2 separate regions of the Homo sapiens genome follow, and region 1 is linked to region 2. Evidence: promoter capture Hi-C in human tissues and cell types (Jung and others, 2019). All regions are on one chromosome and are shown on one strand. The core of a region is centred on a gene start or on the middle of the fragment in contact, and the rest is flanking DNA. Distances in the headings are between cores, read along the strand shown.

Region 1 (2,811 bases), core at 178-2,677, 100 kb before region 2:
TATCTGGGAAAAAACAATATTGGCTCAATCTCTCTCTTTTCTGTCTTAACAGATCTCTACAAGGTTATCACTCTAAGAAAACAGCTTCAGAGAACTGAAGTCACCAGTACATTAGCCCACTCATCTGGGTACAAAGCTGTCTGTGCAGTGGATGAAAGCAGGTCTTCAGACTCAGAACTATTCAGAGAAGTTGTCCTTAAGGGCTCTATTTCAGGAAAAAAGAGGCATTATCTAGAAAGGTCAGTGGTTGAAGACACATGAGCTGAGCTGCATAACAATCACAGTAGCACACATGCGGGTGACCAGGGAAATATACACATGCACAACAAACCGAAGAATACAATGTTAAACTCATTGTTTTAGACAACGTGGGACAGAAGCAAGATGAAGTACTGGACAGAAAACACACTGCGAGAAACTTGATTTAAAAAGCGCATCAAAATTTCTGAACCATTCTGCCAGTAAGTGTGAAGATCCCGTGTGCCATGCCCGAGAAGCCCTCATTAATTCACCAGAGGGGGTGATGTCATCCTGTGAAAATACGCCAGGCTGGGTCAAGCTTGCCCCGGCCAGGACGGCTGCTGCTGCTGCCATGGCTCCAGCCCCTGCCCCTCCCATTTCCCTGGCAAGTGGACAGAAGATGATGTAACTGCACAGAAGCAAGGGAAAGGAAAAACAAGCTTCTGAACCACATTAAGGAAAAAAAAACCCAAACAAACTTCCTTTAATTTGAAAGTTCTTTGTTGTCAAAAGGGCTTGGATGTCCTTAGTCTTAAAATAACCTTTCATGTTAATTACAAAAAAAAAAAAAAAAAAAAAAAGACCCTCCTATTTCTAACTAAAATCGTATTTTGCTGGATTCCAAAATGAACTAAGGAGCTGAAAGCTTTGTCTTTCTTAGGACTTCCTCTAAGCCTGCCAACACGAGGGTCCATAGGGCCTTAATGGAATTCCAGGGCAGTAAACTCAAGCTGCAGAGACCACAGCAAACCCTCACATCCTCTGATGTTAACTCAGCAGACAGAGAGTAACAGAAAAGCACAGAGATCCACAGAACTTAACACATTTTAGGGAGTGAGGGAAGAACTCTTATTTGAAACGGAAACCAATGAAGATAATAAATATTGATTTGTTTTCTTCAACTTGTGACACTTGAGTTAAAGACTGCTTTGAATACTTTTGACTACTGAGTTTACAAGAGGAACTCTGAAATAAATGGTGCAAACAAAACAAAACCACGAAGCAAGGGAAGCCTCTAGGATTGGGAAAAGGAAAGTGATTCAAACCATCTAAAGAGACTCGTGAACTTCCCAATTAAGAAAATTATATTTTACTCACACTTCCGTTCCAGCTCCCTCATTTTTTCTGGTGGAATTTTCATTTTATCAATGTGCTCACGTAAAACACTAGCCCATTTCTGCAGAGATTCCATCACAGTCCAAGGTCTAGACATGTCTGCAACAAAAATGACGAGGGTCTCTGGCAAGGATTCAGCAGAAACTGCAAATTTCAGCAGGCCTTTGTGGTACAAGTCTCCATCCAGAATCCACACGTTGCAGCGCGTGTGATCTGAGAAAACAAGTGAATGAAGCTAGTTACCACCTGACAGTGACCATCAGCATAGCTGCAGAAACAGACACATCAGGAAGATCTTGAAGGTGACAGCTATGAATTCTAAATAGAATGCAAAATTTGGAAATCCAAACCAAAAAGTGCCCAAGTGCTCAGGAGACAGCAATCCTTGGTCCTGGTGCCTTTAAAACTACAGTAATATAGGGTCCAGGCATGGTGGCTCACACCTGTAATCTCAACACTTTGAGAGGCTGAGGCAGGTGGATCACTTGAGGTCAGGGGTTCAAGACCAGCCTGGCCAACATGGCAAAACCCCATCTCTACTAAAAGTACAAAACAAATTAGCCGGGCATCGTGACACTCGCCTGTAATCCCGGCTACTTAGGAGGCTGAGGCAGGAGAATTGCTTGAACCCAGGAAGTAGAGGTTGCGATGAGCTGAGATTGTGCCAATGCACTCCAGCCTGGGCAACAGAATGAGAGTCCATCTCAAAACAAAAACAAAAACAAAAACAAAAACAAAACAAACAAAAAAAACTACAGTAATATAGGAGGTGTTCACACCTAAAAAGGTTTCCAAAATGTCTATGAAGTAAAGATTGAGGGTATCGGACCCAGTGCGGTGGCTCACACCTATAATCCCTGCACTTTGGGAGGCTGAGGCGAACTGATCACGAGGTCGGGAGTTCAAGACCGGCCTGGCCAGCATGGTAAAACCTGTCTCTATTAAAAATACAAAATTTAGCTGGGCATGGTGGCAGGCGCCTGTAATCCCAGCTACTTGGGAGGCTGAGGTAGGAGAATCACTTGAACCCGGGAGGCAGATGTTGCAGTGAGTCGAGATCGTGCCACTGCACTCCAGCCTGGATGACAGAGTGAGACTCCATCTCAAAAAAAAAAAAAAAAAAAAAAGGGTGAGAGTCTCTTAGCTTTCAATAAAAACCAAAAGATACTAATGTTCACTGGTCAACTGTGCCACAACCTAAATAATCCATCATCCTAAGGTAACAGCAATCAGTGAAGCAGTGAGCTGTGCTGAAGAGCCTATGTTTAAACAAGCCCTTCTTGTGTTGGTCACACTAAACAATGCATTCACATACTATAAAGGATGCCAAAGAGACAGAACCTTTGTATTTAAATGTGAAGATAAAATCATCACTTACATAAACTGAGATATGAATTACCAGACGCCTAATTATATTGGGGAATTAGTAATTTTTTGTTATGATAATAATATGGT
Region 2 (2,700 bases), core at 73-2,572:
GTCTGAGCTCCCAGGGGGTGTACTGAAGGTTATGGGGAGGTCAGGAGAGGAGGGACAAACAGCAGGCTATGGAGGGACAAAGCAGAGTCCCTGAAGAAAGGAGGAAGCAGTAGACAAAATAACAGGGAGGGTGGAAGTCAGAGCCTCAGACTTAGCTCCATGGGGAAGCCACCTGGTGTCTGCCTGTCTTCAGGCCCATTGGTTGATGCCACTCCTTCTCACTCCCCCTTGGGGGATCTGGTTCCACCTGGGCCAAGGGTTCACATTGCCATTCCTGTCCCTGCATCTACCCCAGGGTTCCCGGACCCCCACACTCACAGCACACCCTTGTACCCAGCACCAAGGAGAAATGGTAAAGACCCCAGTGTCAGGCCAGGAGTGGTGGCTCACTCCTCTAATCCCAACACTTTGGGAGGCCAAGGCGGGTGGATTACTTGAGGCCAGAAGTTCAAGACCAGCCCAGGCAACATGGTGAAACCCCCATCTCTACAAAAAACACAAAAATTAGCTGGATGTGGTGGCACACACCTGTAATCCCAGCTACTTGGAAGGCTGAAGCAGAAGAATCACTTGAATCAAGGAGGTGGAGGTTGCAGTGAGCTGATATAGCACCAGCCTGGGTGACAGAGCAAGACTCTGTCTAAAAACAAACAAGCAAACAAACAAACAAACAAACAAATCCCACAAAACCCCCAGTGTCTGGAGTAAGAACCCCAGCTAATGAACCCTTTACCCCCTGGCTAGATGACCTTGGGCAAGTCACTTCACTTCTCTGGGCCTCACTCCCCTCCTCTGTCAGATAGGGCTGATGGAAGCACCCAACCTTGTAGGGTAACAGAGAGGGTTATACCATAGGAAGGACCCAAAGCTTGGTCCAGCGCCTGCAACAGCCTCTGGCAAACAGTGGAAGCTCCAGTTTTGGACACTTGATGGTCAGTGTAGTTTGCAGTTTAAAGGGGACTTTCCAACCCCAAAAGATTCAGGACCCAGAGCTCAGGTCTCTGGTGGTGGCATTTGCAGGTCTGGGGCAAGCCTAGGGAAGGGACGCCATGTGCGGCACGGGCATCTAGTGTCCCAGAGTCCGCACGGGTTGCTGGGGGAAAAAGAGGGATAGTCGCCCAGCCAGGGCAGGGGTGGGAGTTGGGGGGAGAGGGTTACTTCCTCCTGCCCTGAATCTCCGCTCGGGGTTCAACTGGCTCGCCGGCGGGCGAGGGCGGGGCAGGCCGGCCTCTCTGGCCCTGCTGGGGGGTGGGGGGCGGGTCCCCCGGGAACTGCTCCTCCCGCCAGCCGCTGCTTTAAGAGGCTGCTCCGCGGTAGCGAGCGGGGCCGGAGCCGCAGCCCGAACGAGCGGACCGAGCCGACCGGGCAGGTGCACGGCTGCGGGGACGGCAGCGGCATGACCGGCCACCACGGCTGGGGCTACGGCCAGGACGACGGTAGGCACAGACCTCCCCCACCGCCTCTGGCTCGGACCCCCGACCCAACTGCACTCGCCCCAACCCTCTTGCCCAGCTGGTTTCCCAGACCGGAAAGCTCCCACACTCCAGGCTGGGCGGGACCCCTCTTCCCATCCCGGCCCCCGAACTTGGCCCAAGCCTTGGTCCCCCGCGCCAGACGCAAAGTCCGCGCTGCGCCCCGGGTGGCCCCGCCGCCAGCAAGCGACCTGGCGGCTGTGTCCTGCCGCCTCCTCCGCGAAGCCCCTGATTGCCCAGCCCGCTCAGACCCAGGCCCAGACTCTCACTCACTCGCCCCGGGCGTGCGCAGCGCGTGGGGGTGGCCCAGGGCAGCGGGGGGCGGGCGCCGCGGAGCGCTGTGCGCGGGTGTCTGCGGGGAGCGCGCACGGCAAGTGAGCGGGGACCTCGGGGGAGCGGGGCTCCGCGTGGCAAGGGCGCAGTGTCCCCCGGAGAGAATTTCCCCGCAGAAGTGGCCGAGCTGCCTTCTCGGCCGGTACGTGAGGGAAGGGGGCACTTGGGGGCGCAAGCATGTGTCTGGGTGTCTACACCGAGCAGGGTGTTTGCGCACGTCCGGGTGTGAGTCGTGGGAGCCCGTGGCCCACACCAGCCTCCTGGGCTGACGCGGAAGAGAGCTCCTTCATCCTGCCTCAGTTTCCTTAGGACTCAGAGAAAGGGAGAAGAGGCAGAAGGTGAGAGCCAGACGGCTGGAGTGTGGGTCTGGGGCAGTCAATTCCCTTTGGGGCCATTTCTTACCAAGCAGGGGTGGGGGTGTGGGGTAAGGGGTTCCCTATTTCCCTGGGGAGCCAGTGCAAGACAGGTGGGGTGCGGAGAAGAAAAAGTAATGATGGGAGGAACATCCCCCAGCCCCACTCCTCTGCGGAGAGGCAGTCACTTTGTGAGGTTGGGTGGGGGACCACAGTCTGGGAAGCCAGAAAGTTGCAGTAGACCAGAGGGAGGGTGCTGTGGAGTCTTTGGCTCCCTCTGGGGCCCCAAGAACAAAGGAGCATATTTTGGAAGAGAACCCCCAGATCTGGGTATGCAAGAGCTGGAAAGAGACATTCAGAAAAAGATGATATAGACAAGCAGAGAGGGAGAGACAGGCAGACATGGGGCAGATGGACAGGACCCATAGGGATCATCTTCTCCCAGCACCTGCTCTGAGCCACCTTTTGGGTGCTTCCCCCAGAGCCAGAGTCCCCTGCCTCCAGCTCTTCTTGCTAGTCATGCCCACCAGCTCTGAGCACCC

Evidence for each region. Contacts are between HindIII fragments. The study calls those that stand out against the background at their distance.
Region 1: a fragment that was not itself captured here is called in contact with the fragment with the promoter of CA7 in region 2 in 2 of the 25 tissues and cell types used here (bladder and thymus).

What each region holds. Positions count from the first base shown.
Region 1 is chr16:66,741,100-66,743,910 of GRCh38, forward strand. DYNC1LI2 (dynein cytoplasmic 1 light intermediate chain 2) reads right to left here. Exons shown (of 13, transcript NM_006141.3): 4 at 1,339-1,569. Among named protein-coding and RNA genes, the nearest start is that of DYNC1LI2, 9.1 kb to the right of the region's middle. The HindIII fragment of the contact is 5,830 bases long and covers 1-2,811 here.
Region 2 is chr16:66,843,092-66,845,791 of GRCh38, forward strand. CA7 (carbonic anhydrase 7) reads left to right here and starts at 1,323. Exons shown (of 7, transcript NM_005182.3): 1 at 1,323-1,436. The coding sequence starts at 1,397. All of the region lies in intron 3 of LOC124903699 (a long non-coding RNA gene), which reads right to left. RefSeq lists an enhancer at 1,251-1,752. The HindIII fragment of the contact is 13,624 bases long and covers 1-2,700 here.